Linked DNA regions of Homo sapiens: all the other regions are linked to region 1. Evidence: promoter capture Hi-C in human tissues and cell types (Jung and others, 2019). All regions are on one chromosome and are shown on one strand. Each heading gives the region's core, a stretch centred on a gene start or on the middle of the fragment in contact. The rest is flanking DNA. Distances are from core to core; before and after follow the strand shown.

Region 1 (7,297 bases), core at 1-2,500:
AGGGGGGTGCAGCAGGCAGCGTGATCCCGAAGGGGAGGGGTGTGGGTGCACAGAACCAGAAGGACAGGGACAGCGGGAGAGACAGAGGGAAAGACAGGGAGGGAGAGAGAGAAAGAGAAAGAGTTAGCCATTCGTGCGCCACGCCGTGCCGCGCGCCCCGGGTACCTTGGCGGCGGCCTCTTCGGCGGCCAGGAGGCTGTCCTCCGCCTTGTGCAGCTCCTCCAGCACCCGGTCCCGCTCGTCCTCCGACACCCGCAGCAACTTCTCCTTGGCCGCGATGTCCTCCTCGAGCTGGGGGCAGCGGCGGGCGGGCGCGGGCGGCCGGCACGGACCGGGTGTTAGACACACACAACACACGGGCGTCGGGTTGGCTGGGGCCCCTCGGGCTCGGGGCGCCGCCGAGTTGGAGTGCAAAGGACCCGAGGTAACTTCCTCTTTACCCGAGCTGGAACCGCTCCGCGGCTCACCCCGCACACCCACCTGCCCTGGGACGAGACTCCTGCCGAGGTCTCAGCGGGCTCAAGTCCACTACTTGGGGACACAGAAGAACGCCACTGCTGGCCTGGCTTTCGGGCTGTAGCCTCCATTCCGCCCCATCTTTGTTCTTAGGTAACAACTCCAGGACTCCCTTCTCCTCCCCAAGTTTAAGGTTCCTTTCTCCCCAGTCAAAAGTCAACGAACTTCTAACACTTGAGTTACTCGACCCCCTTTCTCCATCCCTCGCCCTTCCTTCAAACGTCCCCAGGAACCGGGTGTCCTCCTCCCTCCCCCAAACTGATTCCCAGTCCTGAGAATAAAGCGCCTCTAGGACTTGATTTCGCGGGCCATGGGAACCAGAGAAGGGAAATAAGCGTCCTCAGACCAGACTAAGTTAGACTAAGCCTGGCTCTTGCGTTTCCCTTCCTTCTTTCCAGACGCGCGCCCTGGCCGCCCTGGGTGGTGGTGGGGGTAGGGTGGTGGCTCCCCGAGTCCTCGGGGTGGGGATCCAGCCGGGGGTGCCAGGCTCGAGTCCCGGCGCTCTGGGCGCGGGCGCAGGGCCGGGGAGGCGCAGACCTGCTTGCTCCTGTCTTCCGCCGCCTTCTTGTCGGCCTCCGCCTGCTCAGCTCGATCCAAGGCGTTCTCCTTGTCGAGCTTCAGCATCTGCATCTTCTTCTTGATGGCGTCCATGGTGGCGGCGGCGAGGGGCCCTGGGGCTGCAGCAGGAGCGGCGGGGCGAGCGCGCGGTCGGGCGGAGGAGCGGGAGTGCGAGCGCGGAGCCGCCTGCTTCTCCCAGATATGTACTTTCCCAAGGGGGCGACCGCATTCCTCAAGACAGCCAATACTTTTTTGGAAAAGCTTTTTTCTCCTGCCCCCCTTCCTCCTCTCCTCCCTCCGCCCCGTGCCCCCTCCCCGCTCCTCCCGCGGGGGCCGCTCGCCCATTCGCTGCCGGCCGCCGGCCTCCCAGTTGACGGTGGATATGACTATATATGGGGACCCGAGCCGCCGAGGCGGCGGCCGGAGAGGCCGCCCTGTTTCTAAACCTGCGCGCCAGGGAGAGGGCGTTGGGGCCGAGCCGGGGCCGAGGCGCAACCCTCCGCCCTCCGCGTGCCCTTCTCCCAGGGCCGGCACCCAGCCATTAGGGTCCCCAACCGAGCCCGCCCTGAGCTGCCGGAGGCCGGGAGAGCGCGGACCAGGTGGTGGATGCGCGTCGCCCCCCTGTGCCGTCCCCCGGCGCGCTTAGCCAAAGGCCCGGGGGCTTCCCAGCCGTGCTGCACCCCGCGTCAGGGTCAGTGCGCTCTCGGCACCCGCCAGCGCCTCCCCGGCAGCTCTCAGCCAGCCAGGTGTCATCCTGCGCGCTCACGCTCTGGAAACTCAACTGCAGCAGAGAAAGGGAGAACGTGGGAGAAAGCCTGGGGCGGCTCTTGAGACTTTCTCTGCGGGCGCGGGTCAGAGAGGCAGGGGGCGGCACAGCGACAGCACACGGAGTCTTGTTTTCTGCCTGCCCTTTCCCCCAGCGGAGGGACAGTCAAATACTTTAGGGACACAGGACTCAGTGGCGTACTTCTGTGCTTGCTGTGCAGTGCCTCCAAAAAGGTGTGCATGTGTGCGTGTGTGTGCGGGTGGCAGTCTAAGGGGAAAGAACATTGAGTTTAGACTCAGGCAATTTGGTCTGTGGTCTCTACTCTGCCACCAGCAACTGTGAGACCTTGTTTGCTGCCCGCGGCTTCCTCAACTTTAAATCCAGCGGGTAGATAATCCCCGAGGTCCCTCCAGATATAACTTGTTATCATTTTTCTTGCACTGATTTTAGGGAGTCGGCCTTCCATGTTAGATGCTTAGGTGCCAGGTTTCGGAAAACATGGGATCGGCGTTAACCTGGCTAAGTCATTGCATCCGCAGCCGCAACTCTGAGGAGGCTCTGCCGTGTGAGCTGTGCTTGGAAGGAGGAGGATTTCCCCCAACACTTCTTATTTTTAACTACTCCTCCCATCTCCCAAGGGGGAAAGGCTGCTTTTTTTCAGAGCTTCAGTGGGAGGGGAGGAGAGGGGGCTGCCCCCAAGCCCTGAGATCAGCTGAGGCAGGGTTGGTGAGGGTCTTGTTAATAGTCCCCACAGAATAATTCACAGTCTGTACTGCATGGTTACCAAATATTCCCCGGACGGTATCTGAGCAGATTAGGCAGGCCAAACAACTTGTAAGTCCTTCAGAGAATGATCAAATTCCTCTCCAAGATTTTATCGGGTTTCTTCCACTAACCTAACTGCCCAGGAGGGAAAAGATACACTGACCTAATGGTCAGAACATTAGATCTGACCATTAGCATAGGGGCTGCGTGGCACAGAAATTGACCAGAGCCCTTTAATCACGGTGTGTCAACCCAGCCACCGGAACAGTGACAAAGTTCCAGGCATGTGGACGATATCCAGATGCGTGGACTCCAGGGAGCTGACTCCCCAGGTTGGAGCTCAGCAGAGGAGGCAAGAATAGGGAGTTAGGAGTCAGTTCCAGGGATCCAGACCTGGCCTGGTCACTTCCTTGCAGTGTGACCTTAGCCATGTTACAATCTCTCTAAGCCTTTTTTCTCACTTATAAAAAGAGGCAACTGAACTAGAGAAACTCCTTGCGGGACCACATGTTACTGACTTTTCTTTTCTTACTGTGCCATATGTAGCCGAGGGACTCATTAAAGTTTCCTTAAATGAAATCATGCTACAAGCAATTTATTAAACACACGGTTGTTGAGTACCTGCTATATACTAGGCAGGTACTAGGCTCTGGAATCCAAAGAATGAGTAGCACAGGTCTATGTCCTCCAGGTGTTTGGCATGAGAAAGGTGTTAAGAATTCACACGAGGAAGAAATAGAAATGACTAGGTCAGAGCAGATGGGAAAAAATTCTCTGAAAAGGTGATGGCTTTTAAACTGATTTTAAAGGAAGGGTAGCAGTTAGCTAGAGAGGAGGGCCGTTGTATGCGCCAAGGAAAGAAAAAGGAATGTTTGGTGGTGGTTGGACAGTAGGATTTTGGGGGTGAATGGGGGCATGAGACTGGAAAGGAAGCTTGGGGCTGTATGATAAAGGGCCTTGAATTCCAGATTCAGACATTCAGACCTTATTGTGTAGTTTAAAGCCATCGATGTCTCTTCTTTTCACCTCTTCCTCTCCCAGACTCCCTCACCTAGGGCCTATATTCAGAGGTCGAAGCCTATGGTGTCAAAGTATGGAAATGGAGCTATACAACGCTAACTTTTAAAATCCCTTAGTACCACATCATTGATCTCTAGACTGATGGGTTAACATAGCAGGTCCTGAATTCAATCATTTCTTTTAACCCATGTTGAGATTCTGCCATGTGTCAGGCCCAAGTCAGCTTCATGGGCTATACCACCCATGACCTTTTTGTCACCAAGGGCTAAGACAAAGCTAGGACAAGCAAAACGTCATGACTTAAATAACACATTCTTCTGTAGTGAACAGGTCTCCTGGTCCTCTCCAGAGGTAGGCTGGACAGTCACAGGCTGTATGTAGTGTGTATCCCTGTTCTCTGGCTGATTGGCCACAACTCAAGGATGGATCTAAATACTAACCAGGGACTTGGCGTTGTGGCTTGTCAGGCAATGATGAACTGGGCCACTCAGCTTCTTTCATTGCAGTTTGAATTAAGGAACGTGAAAAATGGGAATCACTAGCCGTGGCTGCTGAAACAAAAAGGGATTGCAGTGTCGGGCTGGAAATGCCACGTGTAAAAGTGATTAAGGTTATTCACAATTTTTTAGGTTTTCTCCCCAGTCAATGTCGTGGTAGCATTGTACATCCCACCCAATTAAGTTGGCTGTGGCCATTTGACTTGCTTTGGCCAAGGAAACGTGAGCAGAAATGACTTCTGGTGGATACTTAAAGAGCTCACGACTAACCATGTTCATTTTTCAAGACTGTGGCTGCTCTGTCATTGTGGGTTTTCAAGTGGCTCCCTCTTTCCCCCCAACTAACCCTTGGTGGACATGTAGTGAGAATAAGATATAAATCTTTGTTATTTTAGGCCACTGAGATTGGGGGTTGTTTGTTACTGAAGCATAACTAGCTTCTCCTGACTAATACAGCACAATAGGCATGCATCAGCTAAGTTATGAAAAAGCAGAGAAGTGATTATAGAGAAAGAATGAAGCAGGCATATCAAGATAAACAGAAGCACCATTTAGAGAAAGAGATTGGGAGAATATGACCAAATTTCAGTTCCAGGGGTCCTTATAATAACCCCCTGTATTTCTTGAGGTTACATAAGCGAGTCTATATTCCTTGAAAGTAAAAAGCTTACCAAATCATGGTGGCATGACAGCCTGCACAACATTCAACATTCTTGGCCTAGAGGCTCTACGTGATCACCACGAACATGCTTGGAATTTCCAGATTTCTCCAGTGCCTGGTATTCAGTCATTTCTCAATGAATGTTTGTTGAACAATTTTTTTTATGACTGACAAGTCCAGCTTTCTTACTGACTTACAAGAAAGTCTGGGAAGGTAAAGTAACAAATCTAGGTTCAAAAGATCTTGTTTCCATTCAAAATATGGGCTCTGTGTCTTATTTCATGAAGAATGAATATAAGTATTGTGATAGGGTAAGACAAATGTCTCCAAATATTTATTGGACACCTTTTGTGTGCAAGACATTTAGGGCTTATGGGATCCAGGGAAGCAGACAAAAGACATGGATCTTTTTCTGTAGGAAAAGTGTCTATGTATGATGCAGGGAGAACCCTCTCTTTGGGAGTCATTTAATATGTATTTCCCATGGCATGACCATCAGCTCAGTTGGTCACCTGGGGCCCTCTATAGTTATGAGGATCACATATCTCGGGTTTTCTAGGAAAGCTTTAATATTAAATATGCTGCCTTTTTCCTTCCATAAAACACTTGTATGTGTCATACTACATTTATCAATATTTGGTTACAAAGGAGAGTCAACATGAGCATCATTTCCCAATGTGACACCTTTAACAGGAATGCCCACTTGAATATGTACATCAGGGTTTGTTTGTTTGAAAAAACAAAATGAAAACCTCATTACCTGATAGTCACCCCTTGTTTAACAGCAATAGCCCTGCCGGTGTACTGTGACTCCCCCAGAGTCAACAGTGCTGACTGAAGCAATTAAGGGAAAGTGAAGAATCTATAATTAAATGGAGAGACGACTGCTTCTTCGTCTCTTTTGGAATGCAGCGTTTTATGCTCACGACTCAGTGTCCCTGGAACAAGATACGGCATGCTCTCCTCAAACACTGGGAGTTGTGTTTCCCAAGGGTTTGTGATGCTACCATCAAGGCCTCACAGAAAATATGCTATGCTTCCTGGGGGCGGGGGGTGGGGCTGGTTTGGATCTCTGAGAAAGGTCTTTAGGCCATTTTCAAGGCGTGCCTGCCTTTATTGTTTAGTAACACACAGCTGGTCCTGATTCTTTGGAGAGGCCCTTGAGCACGCTTATTACCTGGAATGTTTGCATGGGCAAAATGATTGTCCCAGTACAAAAAAAAAAAGGCATAGGAGTTTTCCTGCCTTACCTCTTATTGTCTGTCTCTCAACAGTAGCAACTCAGTGTAGATTTAATCAAGCTCCAAGTGTGGCAGATTTAGCTGTCTTAAGAAAGGCGATATTCCTTCATGTTTGTATAGTTTATAAAGCACTTTCAAGTTCATTACCTCCTCCTCCCAACCTCTTATGACAGCATCAGGATGAGTTCTCTGATTTTCACTCTGTACATGAGAAAACCAGGCCGAGCACAGTGGCTCATGCTTGTAATCCCAGCACTTTGGGAGGCCAAAGCAGGAGGATCACTTGAAGCCAGGAGGTCAAAACCAGCCTGGGCAAATTTGTAGAGCTTCCCCCCATCTCTCCAAAAAACTTTAAAAATTAGCGGGGCATGGTAATTCACACCTGCGGTCCCAGCTACTCGGCAGCCTGAGGCAGGAGGATCGCTTGAACCCAGGAGTTTGAGGTTGCAGTGAGTGTGCCACTGTACTCTAGCCTGGGTGACAGAATGAGATCCTGTCTTGAAAAGAAAAAAAACCTAAACCAAAACAAAACCACACACACCAAGGGCAGTAACTGGTTCAAGACCACTCAGCTGGGAGGTGGCAGTGCAGGAACAAAAATGCAGATATCTGAACTCTCAGTAACAATGCCCTTTTCATTCATTCATTCCCAGCCTGTTTTTAGGTTCAGTTTGATTTCATATTTATTTTATGTTATTTTTATTATTATTATTTTTGAGACGGCGTCTTGCTCTGTTGCCTAGGCGGGAGTGCAGTGGCACTATCTCCGCTCACTGCAACCTCCACCTCCCGGGTTCAAGCGATTCTCCTGCCTCAGCCTCCCGAGTAGCTGGGATTACAGGCATGCGCCGCCACACCCAGCTAATTTTTGTATTTTTAGTAGAGATGGGGTTTTACCATGTTGGCCAGGCTGGTCTCGAACTCCTCACCTCAGGTGATCTGCCCACCTGGGCCTCCCAAAGTGCTGGGATTACAGCCGTGAGCCACCGCGCCTGGCCTTATTTCATATTTAAAAGCAATACATTATAAGGGGAAGGGGGGGGTCGCTAAGGTCGTTTCTACACGCAGAACGTGGTTAAAACATGATACTAATGAGGCTAAGATTGAAGGGTTGCCCTGACCTGCATGGGCCAGCTCACAACAGAAGCCTGGGCTCCTAAACCCTCCCACCCACTCTCAGTGATGGGAGAACCTAGTGAGAAAATGTTGTTAAGCCACCAAAATCTTTTTCCACTCTTGTGTTTATGACCAAAGGAGGGATAATAAGGACATC
Region 2 (7,297 bases), core at 2,595-5,094, 690 kb after region 1:
CAATTCTCCTGCCTCAGCCTCCCAAGCAGCTGGGATTACAGGTGCCCGCCACCACGCCTGGCTAATTTCTGTATTTTTAGTAGAGATGGGGTTTCACCATATTGGCCGGGTTGGTCTTGAACTCCTGACCTCAGGTGATCCATCCTCCTCAGCCTCCCAAAGTGCTGGGATTACAGACGTGAGCTGCTGCGCCTGGCCTCATCAGATTCTTCAAGGGGTGTATGATCCCCCACCAAAGTTAAGAGTATCTACTACTAGAGACAGTCATCAGATAAGTTTCATTTTTCACTGAAGAGTGGTATTAAATCCTGCCAACTACACCAAAAAGAAAAAAGAAAGAAAGAAAAAAGAGTGGTGTTAGTCTTGGCAGAGGGCTTTTCCAAGGGTTTCTAAATTATTGCAGAATTTAAATAAATTATTTAGCCTCATCTATTAAATAAGGGTTAATAATGGCAACTCATGGGGTCGTTATGAGGATTAAATGTTAATATTTGCAAGCACTTAGAAAGTTGCTATCAGATCATAAGCCCTATTACATACATGTTTGTAAAGTAACACTAGTTCACGTGTTCCCTGCCTGCCCCAACCACAAGGAGAAAACCAAGCTCCGTAGTAAAGAGCAGAAGACTTTTGACAAGCAGCCAGACCTCCTGAATAATTTCTAACACAGAATCTTCCCTAGGCAGCATGCTATCCCTATCCAGAGATCAAAACGGATCTAGGTCATTTGAGGAAGTAGCCAGGCAAAGGATATTGAAGAGCTGCAGTAAAACGGAATGTTAATTATGCAGCTAGGAAGGACAATTTTTTATAGTAAAAAAAAAAAAGCAAATTATGTATAGACTAGATAGATACATACATACAAATGTGCATATGTATGTACCTATATGTGTATATCATATGTATAAGAAATTATTTAATTTTAAATTGAGGATTTTTTTTTCAACAGCAAGAGAAGGAGCTACCTGTAAACTAAAATACCTGAAAACTTACAGTTCAGGATGTGTAACCAGCAGGAATTACGATCACTTTTCTCTTTCCTCATCACCTCCCCTTGCCAAAAACTATGTATGTACACATAGACATAAATATATCATTTATTACTTATAGAATAATGCAATTGAATTATTTTGTCTAAAAGGCACTTTAAGTATTTCAGATGCTTTGAGGACTGTTGAAAAAGTGCATGTGCAAGTCGATCCCAGGTCCTATTGTTTTCTCCTTCCATCTCACCATTCAGTGTCATAGAGTCCCAGCCCTGCACTCACTAAGACTTAAGTGGGGGAATTAATTCAGTTCTGTCTCATTAAGTACTGAGCACAATGGCCAAGCGCAGTTGCTCATGCCTGTAATCCTAGCGTGCTTTGGGAGGCCGAGGGGGGCCGATTGGCTGAACCCAGGAGTTCGAGACCAGTCTGGGCAACGTGGTAAAACCCTGTCTCTACTAAAAATACAAAAATTAGCCGGGTGTGGTGACATGTGCCTCCAATCCCAGCTACTTGGGGGGCTGAGGCACAAGAACTGCTTGAACCTGGGAGGTGGAAGTTGCAGTGAGCCCAGATCGCGCCACTGCACTCCAGCCAGAGCGAAACCCTGTCTCTAAAACAACAACAACAACAACAACAACTAGTACTGAGCACAAGTATTGAGCATCTAGTCTGTGCCAGAAGCATGGCATAAAGCAAAGAGAAATCAAATGGAGTCTCTAGGCTCTGCCTCTGTCAGCTTGTCTGTAAAATAAGGTGCTTGAATTAGATGATTAATCTGTCTTTTCCTAGCTCTGACTTCTATGATATGAAGTAAAACCATGCAATCGTTTGTATCTAAAAATCTTCAGAACATTTACCAATAGGCTTCATGATCATCAAATTGCCACACAAATCTCATCACCTCTACTGTGGTCCCTCCAGTACTTGAATCGTTAGCAATGTATCATTAATGCTGATAATGCATCATTAATAATGACAGGTTATTTGTACGGTGTGTCGTAATACCAAGAACTCTTCATAACAACCATGGGCCAGAGAGCTCTGGCAGTCTCACCCTTGTTTTTACAGACAATGAAACTGAGACTGAGAAAGGTTGAAGGTGGCAGAATAAGGACTTGAACCCGTGTCTAACTTGTGGTCAGGGCTCTTTCCACCCCTACCACCACTGCACTTATGAAATGCTAGTGGGCATTGTCCCCACTGTGTGCCTACATCTTCCCTCCCATCCACATGAGCAGGGGCAGTCCTATACAATTTCTTTATTGCACTCGCAACATTGTGCCCACGGGGCACCTGCTTCACTCTGCACCCAGTGCAGGCCCCATCCCACATTTGCTTGGTAGGACTGGGAGCTGCTGTGGGGTGAATCAGGGCTCTGTGGCCCAGCCCAAGAGAAAGAAGTTTAATAGAGAGACCTAGGCACAGACCTCAGCTGCCTGCCCTGGCAGAGGCACTCCCCAGGGCAGAAACACAAACCCAGAGTTCTTTGTCCATCTTATCCCAGCATCAGCAGGCCCTGAATTGTTCATTGAAGTTCCTTGAAGGAAGCTTGCTGTCAATTAGACTTGTTCCGTTTAAGGTTTTGATCTCAACAAAAATGAGTGGGTCATTTCAGTGCTTCTGTGAGTGACTCTGAGAGACCTGCAGCCACGGCTGCTGGCCAGCCGGCCTCAGCCGTACAGAGCATGCTTTCACGTTGACCTGCCTGAGGCCAGCCCTCGTGGAATGTTTCCAATAGTAATGATAAAAAATGTGCTTGAGCTTAGGTGGCATTGGGAATATTTTTCAAAGCACAGTCACATTCAAACAAACGCTGGGGCAGGCATGACCGACTCCTTTATAACCTAGGAAAGAGAGATTAGCTATGGTGAATTGGGTCCATGCAGCTATTAAGTTGCAAAGTTGAGACAGGAATGCAGATCTTCCATACCCAGCCGTGTGATCTCTGCATTCTACGAGGCTTCCACCACCCTGTAGAGCTGGTTAGGTTTATCTTGGAGACTCTCTCTCCTGCTCCAGGTTCCAGAGCTTTTCAAGAGTCAGAGGGCCAGGCGTGGTGGCTCACGCCACCAGCACTTTGGGAGGCTGGGGCGGGCAGATCACCTGAAGTCAGGAGTTTGAGACCAGCCTGGCCAACATGGTGAAACCCCGTCTCTACTAAAAATGCAAAAATTAGCCGACGGGTGCCTATAATCTCAGCTAATTGGGAGGCTGAGGCACGAGAATCACTTGAACCCAGGAGGCGGAAGTTGCAGTGAGCTGAGATGGAGCCACTGCACTTCAGCCTGGGCGACAAGAGTGAAACTCCATCTCAAAAACAAAAAAAAAAAAAAGAAAAAGGAAAAGAGTCAGAGAACCCCTACCTCATCATGAAGCTGAGTCCTGCCTTCCCCTGGTGAATGGCATGAGTTCTGAAGTCGCCCTCTTCTTCTCCATCCACCTCATGAAACCTCTTACTGTCTTTCTAAACAGATCACGGCTCCAAGGGAAAAGCAATGGGATTACACGTATTTGCACACAGATGTGAACTGATGAAAGTTAACATATTTGTCAGGAATACTTGTGGAATCCCAAAACATAGGACTCTCTAAGGGTGAAATTTCAAGAGCTATTTGTAAGCACACAAAATGCACTGTAAGGTGTCTGTTTACTCCTTAAATTCTGTTCTAGATCCCCTACACAGCATGGAGGTTTGGTGTGGCTGGGGAGAGCAGATGCTCAGGCCCAGAGCATCTTTGCAGTTCTGAGCCCATGAGCAGTGACAGTAAGAAAAGTGGGCAGATAGAATGCAAAAGAGCTGTGCCCAATTCAAGTACAGACAATGGATTACCCCATGTGACACGGCTGCTGAGAACAAAGTCAGGTTCATGACACCACAGACCCATTCCTGACGATGAGCCCAAGACCCTCCGTGTTCCCAAGGTCATCCTAGAACCATTAAACTGGGTTCCCAGCACTGTGAGGCCACAAAGCTCCAGATCAGCCATTCTTTTGCCACCTTCACTCCTCACCCCTGCTTGTTCTGGAAGCCCAGGTGCACTTCCGCAACAAGGGAGCACTAAATAATCCACCCCGAGACTCTGGGGCTGTGCCCGGCTGCCGACTTTTCCACAGGAACCTTGGGGCTCATCGGTTTATAGATTTCCCCAATCAAAAAACAAAGAATCTCAGCTACCTCTCCTTTCCATCTACCGTTGTTACACATCTCTCTAGACTGTCTCTGAATCTCCTACTTCCTTCCCTGCTGTGATTGAAGTGGGCACTTTAGAAGCAGACTCATTTTCTCTCCTATCTGCTCTGGGCTTTCAGCTTCATGCAGCAGTGCTCCCCCAAAGCCCAGCTATTCCCTTTCTCCCTAAGAGTCCCTCCATTAATGCCCCATCAGGAACCCCTGCTGCTAGCAAGAGGAGCAGGAATGCTAACCTTAGCTGGGCACTGATCACAGCTCAGGCTCCGTGCTAAGTGCTTGCCTTGCATTTTCTCATTTAATCCCAACAAATGAATGATCCGAGTGCTAGTTCTGTGTGTGTGTGTGTGTGTGTGTGTGTGTGTATGAGTGCCAATTTTACAAGTGGGGAAACTGACGCACAGGCAGGGGAAGTAATTTGCCCAAGATCACATGGTTGGATCGTGGAGGAATTGGGGTGTTCTTGCTAATACAAACAAGCTTCAGGGAATAGCCTTGTGCTTTTAACTTTGGAAGCTCTAGAATAAATTCCTTGAAGGGGAATGATGCGGTCAAACAGACAGCACAATTAACATTTTAGATAAATCTTTCCAAATTGTCCCCCAAAATGGTTTTCTACATTATACTTCCATCAACTATGTATGAGAATGCCAGTTGTATCCTTGCCATTACTGGATATTTTCAATTTTGTATCCCATTCCGATACATAAGGACTTTGTTTTCATTTTCATTCTTTAGTTACTGGTGAGGAGGAGCACATGTTCATGTTTATTGGCCCGTTATAGTTTTCTGCCCAGATATAAATGTTAATAATACAAAACAACTCATTTTCTCCCCAGAATCCACATTTCCTTTATTCCCTGTCAGGATCACCCACTAGTTACCCAAAACAGAAATCCAGGAACAGACTTTGGGTCTTCCTTCTGCTCTTCTTTCTCTCTTTTCTTTCTTTTTTTTTTTTTTTTTGAGATGGAGTCTTGCTCTGTCACCCAGGCTGGAGTGCAGTCTTGGCTCATTGCAACCTCCACCTCCTGAGTTCAAGTGATTCTCTTGCCTCAGCCTCCTGAATAGCTGGGATTATAGGTATGTGTCACCATACCTGGCAAATTTTTGTATTTTTAGTAGAGACAAGGTTTCACTATGTTGGCCAGGCTGGTCTCGAACTCCTGACCTCAGGTGATTCACCCACCTCGGCCTCCCAAAGTGCTGGGATTACAGGCATGAGCCACTACCCCTGGCCTCTTTCTGCTCTTCTTTCTACAGCTAGTCAGTCTTGACTGCCTCTTATATGCTTCTGGGATCAACTCCATACTGTCCCCATGACCCCCTGGATGGTGCAGGCTGTCATCACCATTCTCAGAACAGTCCTTGGGGGATGCTGCTGAGGTAGCTACTGCACAGGCCTTGTCTTGTTTTATTCTCAATAACCTTAGAGTGGGTGCTGTTATCCCCATTGTCCACTGCGTGTTCCACATCATGAGGGAGGATCACTTCCTCCACCCCCTTCTCTGCTGCTCCAATGGCTTCCTCTCCTTGTCTTCTTGTCCCCATGTCTAAAGCTTTCACCTTCTGAGGAAGACCACAGGCCTGCTTCCAGCCTGCCTGGCCCCAAAGAAGGCCCTGCCAGGTCAGAGAGCCCACGGACAGGCCATGTGGTTCAGAAGCTGAGACGGTGAACCCTGACTGACCAGCTTTCTTGCTCTTTCTAAAGCGGGCTTGCCCTCTTCTCCTTTTCCCGGTATCTGCTCACATCTCCCTTTTCTTTACCCTCACTCCCGTTTCTACTCTTATTTTCTCTGTGGCTCTTACTCAATAGGCTTTCTTCCCCTGTGTTTTCCCATTTGTTTCTCTGTCAGCCTTTTATTTTTTCCAGACGGAGTCTCACTCTGTGGTCCAGGCTGGAGTGAAGTGGTATGATCTCAGCTCACTGAGACCTCCGCCTTCCAGGTTCAAGCGATTCTCCTGCCTCAGCCTCCCAAGTAGCTGGGCTTACAGGCACCCGCCACCACGCCCGGCTAATTTTTGTATTTTTAGTAGAGACGGAGTTTCACCATGTTGGCTAGACTGGTCTCGAACTCCTGACCTCAGGTGATCTGCCTGCCTTGGCCTCCCAAAGTGCTGGGATTACAGGCGTGAGCCATCGTGTCCGGCCTCCCATCAGTCTTTTCTAGTCCCACTCATTTAATTGCCTTTTTGTTTCCTTGCAGGGTGAATAGGATCTCAGGGCCCCAAGAAGGAAGCAATAGGGAAAGGCACCGCCTGATCCTCCACTGCAGGCAGAAAACAACTTCTGCTTTCTCTTGCTGCCTCTCGGGGTCAGCATGCAAACCTAGGTGGGGTCCGCCCCGCCGCAGACCCTTGCCCACCGGCCCTAAGGCTGGCCATTACCGTCACGTGGGCCCTCTAATCCGCAGAAGTCAGAGTTCTCACCCAGAACTGCCATGATCCTCTCCCTGCTCATGCGATTTCCTTGTGGCCGTTCTCGGCCCCACTCCTGAAATCAGGAAAAGGATCTTTGCCTCTGAGCGTCAGAAGGGGAGGAGTCCGGTGGAGCCTAGTGAACCAGCACCATCTATGCTTTAGAATCTTTGGTGATTCTGACAATTCGAGTTCTCCATGGATGACAATATCTGTGGCCCAGTAAACCGGTTTAGAAAAACTTCATTAGCTCCCTGCCGCAGGGGAGCAAAGGGCCAGTCTGCACCTCAGGTTCACCCCACTGTGCTGTTGAGGCAGGGGTCCTGGGGCCCTCCCAGCTGAGTCCCGCACCCTCGCTCCTCTCCTGCAGATGAGGCTGGGACAGTTGATCTGCAGAGCTTCGGTGTCCCCGCAGCAGGGGATGAGTAACACCCCTTCTCTACCCAGACAGCTGCCCTGCGACCTCCTTGGTCCCTCTTTTGGCTCAAGAGCCTGCTTAGATCAGGGTCTCATTCTGTTACACCCTTTATTACTCTCAATCAGTTTTGTTGAATTTAACTGGGGTTTGGAAAATTAAAAACAAAGTCAACATTTATTTCATGATTCCCTGGAAGCCTAGTTGCAGTTTAAGCTTCGCAACTGGCTCCCGTTTCCACCAAGATTATAGGGTCTCCACCACTGTTTCCCTACCGCCATGCTTTTT
Region 3 (7,297 bases), core at 2,240-4,739, 630 kb after region 1:
GGCTGATTTTTGTATTTTTTGTAGAGACAGGGTCTCCCCATGTTCCCCTGGGTGGTCTCAGACTCCTGAGTTCAAGCGATCTTCCCACTTTGGCCTCCCAAAATGCTGGGATTATAGGCATGAGCCACTGTGCCCAACCAACTTTGTTTTTAATTTATATTTCCCCAACATTCTTCACAGAATCATCCCAACTTCCACCCAGACCTGACTCCCTTTAAATTAGTTTTAAGCCAATTACATCTTCAACTAAAATAGGGTCCCTTTAAGTTTTATGATGTGATTTACTGCATGGACATGGAGGGCTACCCCCCACAACTCCGAGATCCTAAAACTTGACACGTGGACCTCTGGACATAGCTTAGTGACAATCTCTCAGCCTCACACACTGCAAAGACCACAAATTCCAAACAGAGGAAGCAGACCCAGCGACCGTGAGCCCACTGGCCCAACCCTTGGAACACACTGTTCCCTGTGCCAGGAGCGCCTGGCAGCGGGCCTCTTCCTTTGGGTCACCCCAGCAGAGCGGGACTCCTGTTTTGTTGGGCTGCTGTTTCCCCAGAATGGGGCAAGCAGGGGTTAAATGAATGGGCACTGTTAGCTGTCCTCTTTCCCCTCAAAGTCAAAGTAAATCCTATCTCAACATTTAGTTTGTTTCAGTTGGAATCATTTGTTCCACCAGGAAACGTTTCTTAAACAGAGAGCTCTGTTTCAACTGTTACAATGAAAAAGTCCTTTCAGCAGCAGAATGTTCATCAAACATTTTTGCTATCATGCAGCCAGCTGAACACAGGTGAAAAACATCCATATCCATGTCTCAGCCCTGCCACTTGCTACGTCTCCTCAGAAGAAACTCGCACGGCTGTCAGTCAGTTCGGGCACCTCTCCTACCCTTTCCTCCCAGAAATCTGTCCATCTCTGTCCCTAATAGGAACATGACTATCAAAGGCATCCTTGACACAGTGGCTCACGCCTGTAATCCAGCACTTTGGGAAACTGAGGTGGGCAGATCACCTGAGGTCAGGAGTTTGAGACCAGCCTGGCCAACATGGTGAAACCCTGTCTCTACTAAAAATACAAAAATTGGCAGGGCATGGTGGTGCACGCCTGTAATCCCAGCTACTCGGGGGGCTGAGGCAGAATTGCTTGAACCTGGGAGGCACAGGTTGCAGGGAGCCGAGATCACGCCATTGCACTCCAGCCTGGGCAGCAAGAGCGAAACTCCATTTCAATAATAAATAAATAAATAAATAATAAAAATTTTAAAAGGCATGCTTGACAGGAAAAATTCTTTTATTTACTCCTCCTTGGGTCACAACCAGAGTCTGCTTTTAGAGCCAAGTTGGAGGTAGACTCGAGGGTTCCGTCCAGCCAGACCTTGGAGCTGTCATTAATTTATTACTAAGCACTAGTGGAAATCTAACTTTATTTACCCCCATCAACTTGGCTTGTGTTACCAGAACAAGAAGGCAACCAAACATGAAATGCTTTGGGAAATGACCCACTAGACTGAACGTCCAAATCACTTTTGCTGTTACATACTGTATGACAGCGGTTCTCAAACCTCTGTGTGCAGAACACCCCTGAGAACTTGTTAAAACAACGGTTCCTGAGCCCCAGCCCAGAGCGTATGGTTCAGTAGTTTGGGGGTGAGGTTGGAGAATTTGCATTTGTAGTAAGTTCCCAGGTGATACTGCTGCTGCCACTGGTCCTGGACTACACTTTGAGGAGCCTGCTGAACACAGCACCTCAGCCTCTACTTGAAGGACAAACTAGCTTCTTACTGGATTCAGTGGCAAGATTAAGCCCACTGGTTCTCAAACACAATCCCCTTGGAACACCAGTGCTCTACCACTGAAATCAAAGCATAGGCTCACTCTCCTCCCCCACATTCTCAAATCAAATTAAACCTCAAGCACCACTTACTTGTTCCTACTATCATCTAAAAGGATTTAATTTCTCAAATTATATATATATATATATATATATATATAGTTTTTTTTTTTGCTAACACTTCACTGAGTTCAACCAATATGACATGTGATTATGAAGTTGTAATGGCCCAGCTGCCACAGCCAAAACCACATGGAAAGACACCAAAATTCAGTGCACTTGGCCTCTAGCTCAAGTTCAACTTCCCAAGGCAATCTCCCTTGACCACTGCAGCCAGATGGCTCCAATCATTTACCATACCCTCAGACTGCCAGATAAATAAAGGGCTTGGTTCCTGCCTTCAAAACTCAATCTAGGGGACAAAAATAAAATAGGCATACACATTAAACCATTTTTAACCAAGACAATGTGTAATCTATTGCTGAACTGTGCAACATAAATGTCAAAGGCTTCAGATTTTCTGCACAAGCAATCTGGTGTTTCATCACAGAAAATGCCTCTATCCACCCCATGCCTCTGCACTGGAGCCCTTTCAGATCCCCTACTCATGCTACAAGAATCGCTGTAAAGTTTCAGCCTTTCTACAATTTAATTTTAAAAACTTAATGTGCACCTGTCCCTGCAGACCTTGGCAATAGCATATAAATTCACGCCATGACTTTGAACACAAACATCCTGCCACTTACAGTGCAGAGGTTTTCCCTGTTCTGTGTTCCGTAGGTCGCTCTATCTGGCGCGTCAAGCCAAGAGAAACAGCCGGGTATAGCATCCCCAACAATAGGGATATTTACTGGCTTGAGATTTTTCTTTCCTGATCTTTATGCCTTGTACACTTCAGATGGACTAGCAATAAAACTCACTATGTTAGCTTGGGGGTGGGGGCAGGGCCAGCACATCTGGATCCAATCATTGTAATTTTACATTCTTAGCATCTTCCAAGGCAGCAGAGCACAAGGGGCAGTGCATGGACTAAATAAGATCCCTGGATTCTGATCAGGCTTTATATCTAACCCCATGTGTCACCTTGGGCAGGGCACTAACCTCATGAGGGCTCAGTTTGCTAAAGAGTCTTCCAAGGCCAGGATACCAGTGCTAACTAGCAACACAATTCAAGTGTTGATGAACTTATAATGACTTTCCCTTTTCCACTTGATTTTACCTGCAAAGATTTCAATTCTCCCTGGAGGAGACATTGGCATTGTTCATTTTTCTCGAGGGCACATCGCTCCCTCTTCCCCTCCTCCCTATCCTCCACTCTCCCAAGCCTTGCAGTCTCTCCACTTCTCTAGTTCAGCTTCTCCAAACAGGGGCTGTGATGAGAAAGAGCCCCCAGGAGAGTTTCCCAAATTGGCACTGAGTTCTCTCCAACTAATGTCTAGCACAGCAGGCCTTTAGTTCCTCAAATAAGCTTCTAATTGTCTTTTCAGAAATGTGCACGGACGCTTATTTCAAGCCATTTGGCAAGTGCCTCGCAGGGTATTTCCTCTGACATTGTGCTTAGAGAAGGAGGATTTAAGAGTCTAGGGGAGCATTAGAAAAACTGTACTCCATCTGATCCTGCCCTTGGACAAAAATATAACAACTTTTTCAAGGACCCACTGCTGGTATGATGTAAACCTCCACAGGTCTTCAAGAACTCAAAGTTGCTGACTCTTACATTTGAATGTAAGTCTTTACCCAGGGACAGGAAGAAGGTGTCCTGACAGAGTTAATGGATGCCAAGAATTGTGACACATTTGGGTGGTCCCAGTCGTGCCAAAAAACACATGCTCCTGTCTCCCTGGGCATCATTCTTCCAGGGTCAACATTAACAGAAGGACAGCTAGCACCCTGCCATCAGAGATGATGAAAGACCACAGGTTCAAGAGGATTTGAGTAGAGCACTCAATTTGGAGCCAGAAACTTGAGTTCAAATCCCAGACCTCCGTCTCTTCCAATTCCTCAAAAAGGTTATCAGCCCTTGTTACCACCACCTTACTGGTTTCAAATGTTGACAGGTGTCCCAGTCCTCTAGGCAAGCCTTTCCCCAAATTTAGTATGCATGCAAGTTCACCTCGGGATCTGATTAACATGAAGATTCTAAGTCCGTAGGTCTGGATTAACTTAAGATTCTGCATTTCCAACAAGTTTCCAGGTGATGCTGAAATTGCTGGTCCACAGACCGATTTTAAATCGCAGGGACAAAGAGACTTATGATCTAACCCAGTGTTTCCCAAAAGTCCCTGGTAAGAATTACATGGGCTAACTGTTAAATACGCCAGAGCATGCCCAGCGAGCTGTGTAAATTTACTTTGAGTTAGTACTCAGATGAATCTTATCATCAGAGAAGTCTGGGAAACCCTGAACTAGTTCATCCACATCCCTCTTCTAAAGTTCCCACACAACCCGTGGGTCCCCTTGTCTCCTTTCCATTTTTCTCTTTAGTTAACTTAAAATCTAACAGCCTAGCCCCTGCTTCTAGGGCCCCCATTTTGAGAGATGAATAATCTCCCAAACTTTTCCAAGTTCTGGCGTACTTGAAAAATTACCATGTCAGTAGGGCCTAAGTCCTGGCAGCCCCAGAGGAATGGAGAGAAGACTAAAGGCATCATTCACTATCTCAGCTCACCTGTTAGCATAATTCAGCTCCCTGACTAGAAAGCTCTGCTCCAACCTCAACCTCAATGGGCAAAACCCTGCAGAGCCCTCCAATATATCTCCCCATTGTTAAGATGACCCAAAAGAAAAAAAAATATATCAAACTTCTATCCTGAGGTTGCCTACAAGGGCCAATGCAGCATGGGAACAAAACACACACACACACACACACACACACACACACACACACACACACACATCCATTACTCACACTCTCTAAGGAGGAATAACATCTAATTACCATGTGCCCAGGAGCATGAACTATCTGTTTTACATCCATCATCTACTAAATCCTTGCAATAACTTCATTACTTGGGGATGATATACACGTTTTACTCATGAGGACACTAAGGCTTACAGTGGTTAGGTGACTTGTCCAAGGTCACACTAAATTATGGCCACTATGCGGTGGGTTCCCACATCAGCATGTTTGTGACCTTTGCAGCATTCATCCCTCTTTGGTTTGTTTTAATGCCTCGGTCCACACATACGCTTCCAGACTGTGCTATCCATGAGGGCAGGGCTCAGGTCTGTTTTGTTTCAGGCTGTATCCACCATGCACTTGGTAGACACCCAGAAAAAGATGTGCCAAACTGATGAATGACTCCAAAGCCAGGGCTCTTCTACAAGAATAGGCTGCTTCCACAACCACAGCAAGCACATGGATGTACCCTGGTTTAAAAGACTCCCAAACTATAAAACACGAATTTACAAGATACACTATGCGTTGGAGAATGCACAGTGGAAGGGCACTGGCCTAGGAGTCAGAAGACCAAAGGACTCTTCTCCCACTTACGCTACCTTATCACCGTACTTGAACAAGCCCCTTCGCTCTCTGCACCTCGGCTTCTTCATCAATCTGATGGTTTAATTCATCCCCCAAACCTCTGTGAACTCCCACATGTGCCAGATGTGGTTCTAAGAAAGAAATGACTAAGAGTAATGGATAAGAGGCTGCGCCCATCCCTCAGTAGCCCTGCACCAATTCCACTCCACCCAGCCCACTAAGCACTAACGGAGAGAATGCACAAAGAACAGTTTTCAAACAAGTATGAAACAGAGAGGGTCCTTGAGGGAATACATGCTTCACAAAAGGAATCTTTACTTTGCAAACTAATTCACAAAAAGCATGGCTAAAGTGACAAGTTCCTCTGATACCTTTTTTTTAAAATCAGGTTTATTAAAGTATAATTACGTAAAGTAAAATTCATCCTTTTTAGGGATACAGTTCTATAAATTTTGACAAATGCCTGTAAATCTTGCTGCAGTTTTTACTTTATTTATCTCTAACTTTTCAAGAATACATTATATAAAATGATGTGAGTATATATGACCCAAAGACACAAAATTAACTTTAGCTCCCTTTTTTTTTTCTTTTTTTCTTTTTGAGATGGAGTCTCGCTCTGTCACCCAAGGTGGAGTGCAATGGCGTGATCTCAGCTCAGTGCAACCTCCGTCTCCCGGGTTCAAGCAATTCTCCCGCCTCAGCCTCCTGAGTAGCTGGGATTACAGGCGCACACCACCACGCCCGGCTAATTTTTGTATTTTTAGTAGAGACGGGGTTTTACCATGTTGGTCAGGCTGGTCTTGAACTCCTGACCTCGTGATCCACCCGCCTCGGCCTCCCAAAGTACTGGGATCACAGGCGTGAGCCACTGCACCCGGACCTAGCTCCCATTTCTAAAAATAAAGGTTCCTCATTTTCCCAGAAGGAAGAACATAGAACTAAAAATCTTGTCTTTAGGGGGAAAAAATTCATTTGTGGAAACATCTGCAAAGCACAGAACTTAGAATACCAAGATCTATTACACTGGTCAAGAAAACTGAATCTCTTCTATTAATAAAGTATCTCCTCCCAACCCTCCCCCTCCCATATGAAAGCATTTACCAATTTTTGAAATATGCATGCAGAGTCCAAGAATATACATATATTTCAACCATGGTCATTCCTAACTACCTGTGCAGTTTAAAACCACAAAGCCTCCTTGAATTAACTCCAAAAATCTAAAATATATTTCACATACTATTAATGCTCCAAAGGAATTTACTTTGACAATGAATGTAACTTTTTAAAAGGCTATCTTAAAATGAATTGCATGAGCTTTTATAAAAAATGAGAAGGGGAATGGTTATTCAAATAGAAAGCTAACAATCTATTAAGATTACATCTCTGTTGCAGAATGAGACCCTGCAACAGCCAGAAAAAAATGGAAACAAATGCCAATATAAACAATCTAACAGTATTTATAACCCTACTGTGTGACTGGCTTCTGGTAAAAAGCAGGACTGATTTCCAAACCCTAGTTCAGTGACATTTAAACTTCAGTATACCTAAGGATATTTTGATTATAAAAACTACAAGGCACAGTGGCTGACACCTGTAATCCCAGCTCTTTGGGAGGCTGAGGCAGGCGGAAGGCTTGAGCTCAGGAGTTAGAGACTGGCCATAAGCGACATGGCCAGTCTCTACAAAAAAAAATCCCCAACAGTCAGTCATGGTGGTGCCACCTGTGGTCCCAGCTACTTAGGAGGCTGAAGCAGGAGAGTCGCTTGAACCTGGAGGGCAGAGGTTACAGTGAGCAGAGATCACACCACTGCATTCCAGCCTGGGAGACAGAGTGAGACCCTGTACCCCCCAAAAAATAAATAAATAAATAAGTAAAAATAAGGGCCAGGCATGCTGGCTGTCACCTGTAATCCCAGCACTTTGGGAGGCCGAGGCAGGAGGATTGTTTGAGCTCAGGAGTTCAAGAACAGCCTGGGCAACAAA
Region 4 (7,297 bases), core at 3,398-5,897, 600 kb after region 1:
TGATTTTATTTTGAAGGTTGGGTATTAAAATATAGAGAAAGAAAAAACAAATTTTTTTTTTCTATTATCTCACACAGTACACTCAATACTACACTTCTGGTCACCAAAATGTATGGGGATTTCTCCTCCCACAGCAACCTCACACAGCAACCAAGCAGTTTCCCAGGTGACTCTCCAGCAGACACCAGCTGGACATCCTCTAATTTTTTTTTTTTTTTTTTTTTTTCTGAGACAGAGTCTCACTCTGTGCCCCAGCTGGAGTGCAACTGCGTAGTCTCGGCTCACTGCAACCTCCACCTCCCAGGTTCAAGCGATTCTCTTACCTCAGCCTCCCGAGTAGCTGGGATTACAGGCACGCACCACCACACCAGCTAATTTTTGTACTTTTAGTAGAGACGGGGTTTCACCATGTTGGCCAGGCTAGTCTGGAACCCTGACCTCAGGTGATCCACTCACCTCGGCCTTCCCAAGTGCTGGGATTACAGGCATGAGGCAACACACCAGGCCACATCCTCTAATTTAACTCAGTTCTGACACTATCCACCTGGACATGGTGTCGGGGTGGCGGGCTCAGTTCCACAAGACTGTCCCCTACAAGCCTCAGGTTGTGACCTGTGTTCTGACCAACAGGCTATACATCAGGGTTCCCATGACCCCATCCTTAGGTTCACTTAATTTGTTAGAACAACTCACAGCACTAAAGGAAACACTTCACTTACCTTTACCCTTTTATTATTAACAACATTACCAAGCATAAAGATGGACAGCCAGATAGAAGAGATGCTTAGGGCGAGGTATGAGGGAAGGGGTGTGAAGCTTCCATGCCCTCTAGGGGGGCACACCACCCGCCACAAACCTCCACGTGTTTATCCATCTGGAAGCTTGTCTGAACCCAGTCCTTCATGTTGTTAATAGAGGCCTCATTAAATAGGCATGACTGATCACATCATTGGCCATTGCTGATCAATTTAACCTCTGGCCCCTCTCCCTTTCCCAGCAGTGGGGACTGGCATCTGAAGTGGGCAATCTTGTGGGGCTAAACCCTCAACCTATGGGATCTGACCCTATATCTCCAGGTAGATGGTGTAAAAATTGAGTTAAATTAGAGGACATCCAGTTGCTGTCCACTGAAGAATCTGCCGGAGAATTGCTTTGTGTGGGGAACGTCCTCCCGCCCCAACAGACAATGGAGTCAGGATTGTTGAGTGACTGTGAAAGAGAGTAGGAAATAATATCTTGGTTTCTTCTATCTTTAGTTTACCTCAGTGTTTTCTGTTTACATGTATTCAGGGGTGGATTCACATGAAGCTCACACAAGTTAAAAAGCCAGGCATGGTTGCATGTGGCTGTACTCCCAGCTACTCAGGAGGCTGAAGCACAGACATCACGTGAGCCCAGGAGTTCGAGGCTGCAGTGAGCTATGATTGTGCCACTGCACTCCAGCCTGGGTGACAGAGCAAGACGGTGTCTCAAAAATATTAGATAAGTAAATAATACAAATGAGCACAGGGCCTTGGAAGGGATCCCTCCATGTGAGGGGCCCTAAAGCTAATCTTCATGACCAATCCATCTCTGCTTGTACTGGAACCACGTTACACTTACCCACATCTGACCCATCATTAGTTCGATGGATTTTCACTAGGAAATGAGCTTCATCAGGAAACGCTGTCCCAGAGCATGAATGTGAAGTGAGCAGGAGATGGATAAAGCACCTGATGAACCAGCTATGTATTATATACCAATGTGACTATAACCAGAACCTGGCTTTGTTTCCACAGGCCGTTTTCCAGGATAGAAATAGCCTGTTTTATAGACTGCTTCCTTCAGAGCAGTATTTGCTGTCACAGTCATTCGTGCTTTCAGTATTTGCTGAGCACCACACAGGGAGGATATAAAAAATGGTTGAAACTGCCTCAAGGAGCTAAACTTTTGAAGGGATAAGAGATGTACACTGGTATCACATGCTGCTTTCCATGACAGCTCTACTTTAGAAGGGAGGTATCAATCCTAAGTAAAAGTAGGACGGTCAATAATTCCTGCTGCGGGGATCCAGGAGGCCACAGCCAAGGGCAAGACAGGGATAGGGGTATAAGAGAACAGCAAGAGAGGTTGCCATGGAAACATTCACCAAAGCAGAGGAGGACAGTGAGGACAGTCAGCACCGTCCTCCCTGACGTTTGGCACAAACACCACCCCACCCGTTAGGTTAGGAGTCTATTACAGAAAAAATGCTCTGCCATTTGGTTGTATTTACCGATCTGCAGCCAGGACCGTGCTCTTGCCAAGTTCACAGTGCTGTTCTCCCAATGAATGAAACCTGTACCATATACTTAAGAAAGGAGAGGGGGAAGATATGTAAGAATTAGGGACAATTTGGTCTCTATCTCAATCTTAAATGCAAGGAGTTTAAAGAGGTAAGTCATACCATAAATCAATGTTTCAACTCAGCATTAATTAAATGCTAACATTAAGTTACATTCTCCCTCTGAGAGGCAGAAAGAATCAAGTTCGTGAGAGGCCCAAACTGAGACTTGAAAGACAGGAAGACCACGAGATCGAGGAGACAGGTTAGCCAAGGTATAAAACGAACCTGGGATAGACAGCAGTGTCCAGCACATGGCGGGTTCTTCATGAACATCTGTAAAATGAGTAAATACAAACGTGCCTAAACCAAGTAAATGAAGAGACCATCCAGGTTATCCTGCCCTGTCTAAAATCCAGTCACTGCCCTGGGAGTCCTGCCTTGCATGGTATCATCGCCCCTGTTTCAGCACAGGGAGTTCCTGTCCCTAGAAAAACCCTGACCCTGGTTAACCCAGAGACAGCTGAAATACAGAAACACCAAACATCTTCTTGCCCCTAATTAATGGCCTCTGACTGCAAGCCAAATCAACTTTCGAAATTGTAAGCTCACTGGAATGAAGGCCAAAAGTCTCAATGTTCACAAAGGACAATGCATACCCAAAGGGAAAAAGTCTAACACTAGTCAGAGGCTTTCACAATCAGAGAGTCACTGACTGGCCATTCACCAGAAATAAACATTTATTCTCACTGTGGGGCTTCCAGAGGCTGGTGGCATGCTGACCCAATCCATAAAAACTGGCTAAGATAGGCGCACGGTGGCTCACACCTGTAATCCAAGCACTTTGGGAGGCCAAGGCGGGCAGATCACCTGAGGTCAGGAGCTCGAGACCAGCCTGGCCAACATGACTAAACCCTGTCTCTACTAAAAATACAAAAATTAGCCGGGCGTGGTGGTGGGTACCTGTAGTCCCAGCTACTTGGGAGGCTGAGGCAGGATAATCACTTGAACCCAGGAGGCGGAGGGTGCAGTGAGCTGAGATCATGCCACTGCACTCCAGCCTGGGCAACAGAGCAAGACTCCATCTCAAAAAAAAACAACTGGCTCAGATAGGTCAAATGTTCTGTATCCCAGGATCAATCTATTAACAGGTTTTATCTAGGCTGACAAATAGGTTTTATCACATGTGACAACTCCAATCGATTGGCAGTGGCTGCCTTTCCTAGGGTACATAGTAAAGTGTCATAATCTTCTAGCGATGTCTGCCATGACAGCAAGAGAAAAAGTAATGGCACAGGGGTCAGGCATTTATTATCCTTGATCCTAATTATACTGTATACATATGCATAAACATATAATGCATATATTTACAACCACATATAATTATCTTTTTCCCTAATTAGCTTTTAAACAATAAAGAAAAGCCCTATTACAGATAGCAACATCTAAATCACAACCGTATTGTTAAATCCTAAGTACAAAAGAAACAGGAAATTAAGAGTAGGAAGTATGACTTTAATCCGAGTCCAGCATGTGCTAGCACAGCTGTTGCTAGAAGGATCCAACTGTTGAGGCCTGCTCAGCCAGGGGACCCTTCCCTCCCTAGGTCCTTGGGATCACCTGAGCATCTGTCCTGGTCCAGGCATATCATACACAGGGGAACTTGGCAGGGTGAAGAGGACTGACTCTGCAGAGTGCCATTTACTGGACAAGGCATTGTTCCAGGGGTTTTATATGGTCTCAGTAGCCTTGTGCTCATCCTTATTCTCAGGCTTGAACCTAAACATGAATGTTGGCCCCACCTACCTCCCTACTTCCCTCTTACACTTGCTACGCTGTAAACAACATGGGCTGACTGATTATGCACCGAACTGTATGGGATAAATAAATGCTGCAAGTGGTCAGAGGTAAGGAGATCACCAACTCCTTAATGTTTAAAGGTTGACATGTTTAGAATAAAATCTCAGCAGATAAAGGTGCACTTCCATCTACAGAGGGGAATGAGGCTGACTGGAATTTGGATAGGAAAGGACCTTTCAGATAGACTAAGCTTTACAGACAAGGCTGTCTTCAACTTAACAAGGATATGGCATATTTCCACAAGGGAGAAGTGTAATAGCCCCCACTCCCTTTAAACATTCTGCCAAATGTGCAAAAAGCAAGGATGTGATCTGGCTGCTCCCCAGTGCCCCTGTTTTCCCTTAAATAACCACTACTGGATTAGGCCATGTTGTGGACTTTCTAGAGCAGCAACTGATGGCTCTTTGCCAGACATCCTGGAAGTAAGTTTGACTACCTGACCAAGGCTGGCTTGTAATGGTTCTCTAAATGCTGTTTGGCCCTGAGCTCATCCCACTACATCCTCTCTAACACTTGCCTTCCCCAGTGAGCTCTTGGGGACCAGGGTGCATCTGCTGCCACCAGAGGCGAGAGTGGGAAAGGGGATGGTCCATAGATGTGTGGTGCTCCTCCTACACCCAGAAGTCTGTAAATCAATCCGTTGCATTGCCAGTTGTTGCATAAATGATTCATGACTATGTTAATCAATACATTTTTGCAGATGCTATTAACCCTGATCATTTCAAGGGGAAAATATAGCTCAGGATGCAGAGGCCACTGCACCAATTGGCAGACAGACAGACAGACACACACACACACACACACACCCCCATGGTGTTTTTTGAAAGTACCGTTTTACAGAGGAAAAAAGTAAACCTGACCTAAAACAGAGGCATCAGTATCCTGAGGCAAGGGCTAGGACTAGAAGCTCATGTCAGTAAGGAGAATGGCTCCAGATGACACACAGTACTATGATTATGACTCTTGCCCAAATGTACCTATACCAACAAACACCTAGGGGCAGGATGAAATAGCACCTTTCAGCCAGGTGTCATGTCTCACACCTATAATCTTCACAAGGCAGAGGGAGAAGGACTGCTTGGGGCCAGGAGTTCACGACCAGCCTGGGCAGCATTGTGAGATCCTGTGACTACAAAAAAAAAAAGGTCAGGTGTGGTGGCTCGCACTTATAGTCCCAGCTAGCTGACCTGGCCTCATGATCTCTCTCAGCAGCCACCACCAATCACCAGGAGATAAAACTAAAGATGAAACTTGTATGTGTCCCCCATAACTCCTAATACACTGCTATTGATGAATGTGCTCCTCAGAAAGGATTCCTAGACCTCTAGCAGGCTGTACACCAACATGGGAGACGCCCTCCTAAGAGCCCTTGATGGTATTTTTCCTCAAGTGGCTCATAATCAATGAGAGATGAAACAAAACTGTGCAAATGAAAGAAAGCCAAAGTGATTAAAAAGTCCATTGAACCAATGTGTTGGGAATTCTACTGAAATATTAGAGGATGTATACAAAAGAGAAATCATACAATTGGGTTGGGCACAGTGGCTCACGCCTTTAATCCCAACACTTTGGGAGGCCAAGGCGGGAGGATCACTTGGGGTTGGGAGTCTGAGACCATCCTGGGCAAAATAGTTAGTCCCTGTCTCTACAAAACAAAATTAAAAATTAGCCAGGCACGATGGTGCATGCATGCTTGTAGTCCCAGCTACTCAGAAGCCAAGGAAGGATGAGCCCTTGAATCCAGAAATTCGAGGCTGCAGTGAGCTATGATTGTGCTACTGCACTCCAGGCTGGGTGACAGAGTGAGACCCTGCCTCTAAAAAAAATAAATAAATAAAGAGAAATCAAAGAATCATGGAGCAAATAACCAAGCCATACACAACTCTTCAACAATTCAAACAACCTGATTCCTCCAAGTCCCTTGAGACCTCCTCTCATAGGCCTGCTCCAGCCACACTGGCCTTCACTGGTTTCTCAAACACATTGAGCTCCTGTCCACTGCAAGGCTTTCCCTAGGCAGCTTTCTCAATAGGGAAAGCTCTCTTCCTCCTCCTCCACTGACATCCTGCCACCTGCTCACGAAAGGCTGGCAAACTCCCACTCAGGTTATAGGGTTGGACACATTCCCTCAAGGAAGTCTTCCCTGATCGCCCTCTGCCTCACCCCAGGCCAGGGTAGAACACCAGGTCCTCCCGCACAGCACTCCCTGCAGTTGCCAAGGACTGTTAGTTTGAATTCCACCTAAGTGGAAGCCTGGCTATGCTTTCCATGAGCTCCTGAGCATAGGACAGATACGCACCACTGTATCCTTAACACACAGCACAGTGCCTGGAACTCAGAGGGAACGTGGAATCAATGAACTAATAGATCAATGGATGACTGAATAAATGATGAGGCAGACAACTGAATTAGAACTGCAGGTCAAACAGGAGGTTAGCAGGACATCTGTGATGCAGAAAGCAATGGGAAGTACGGAGAAATGTGTTTGTGACGTAAGTTTGAAACAAGTAGGCACAAGAAACATCCTGATAGAGTGGAGAAGGCAGGCAACAGTGATATCATGGAGCATGATACAAAATCCAAAATTCATAAAGATTAATAAATTTGACTACATAAAACAAATTTTGTGCAGTGAAAAAGCTAGTGACAAAGACAAAATGAGGGAAAGTATTCACAGCATGTGACAGATGCTAATTTCCATAATACATAAACAGCAAGGCCTGGCATGGTGGCTCACGCCTGTAATCCTAGCATTTTGGGAGGCCAAGGAGGGTGGATCACCTGAGGTCAGGAGTTCAAGACCACCCAGGCCAACATGGCAAAACCCCATCTCTACTAAAAATACAAAAATTAGCCAGGCAAGGTGGTAGGCGCCTGTAATCCCAGCTACTTGGGAGGCTAAGGCAAGAGAGTTGCTCGAACCCGGGAGGCAGAAGTTGCAGTGAGCCAAGATCGCGCCATCGCACTCCAGCCTGGGTGACAAGAGCAAAACTCCATTTCAAAAAAATAAATAAAAATAATTTTAAAAATCAAATACAAATCAATAAGAAAAAGACAACAACACAATAGACAAATAGACAGCAGACACAAAAAGTGAAGAGAAAAAGAAATAAAAATGACTTAAGCATATAAAGA

Evidence for each region. The method cuts DNA at HindIII sites, captures the fragments that hold promoters and counts their contacts. A contact is called where the count stands out against the background at its distance.
Region 2: a fragment that was not itself captured here is called in contact with the fragment with the promoter of TPM1 in region 1 in 1 of the 25 tissues and cell types used here (mesenchymal stem cells).
Region 3: a fragment that was not itself captured here is called in contact with the fragment with the promoter of TPM1 in region 1 in 2 of the 25 tissues and cell types used here (IMR-90 fibroblasts and mesenchymal stem cells).
Region 4: a fragment that was not itself captured here is called in contact with the fragment with the promoter of TPM1 in region 1 in 1 of the 25 tissues and cell types used here (IMR-90 fibroblasts).

Annotation. Positions count from the first base shown.
Region 1 is chr15:63,036,700-63,043,996 of GRCh38, reverse strand. TPM1 (tropomyosin 1) reads right to left here and starts at 1,250. Exons shown (of 10, transcript NM_001018005.2): 1 at 1,054-1,250. The coding sequence starts at 1,167. RefSeq lists enhancers at 1-478, 1,392-2,306. The HindIII fragment of the contact is 3,976 bases long and covers 188-4,163 here.
Region 2 is chr15:62,350,138-62,357,434 of GRCh38, reverse strand. No RefSeq gene overlaps it. Among named protein-coding and RNA genes, the nearest start is that of MIR6085, 11 kb to the right of the region's middle. RefSeq lists an enhancer at 6,047-6,547. The HindIII fragment of the contact is 5,273 bases long and covers 1,208-6,480 here.
Region 3 is chr15:62,408,859-62,416,155 of GRCh38, reverse strand. All of the region lies in intron 1 of TLN2 (talin 2), which reads right to left. Among named protein-coding and RNA genes, the nearest start is that of TLN2, 22 kb to the right of the region's middle. The HindIII fragment of the contact is 3,928 bases long and covers 1,526-5,453 here.
Region 4 is chr15:62,435,424-62,442,720 of GRCh38, reverse strand. All of the region lies in intron 1 of TLN2 (talin 2), which reads right to left. Among named protein-coding and RNA genes, the nearest start is that of TLN2, 49 kb to the right of the region's middle. RefSeq lists a silencer at 2,857-3,151. The HindIII fragment of the contact is 4,060 bases long and covers 2,618-6,677 here.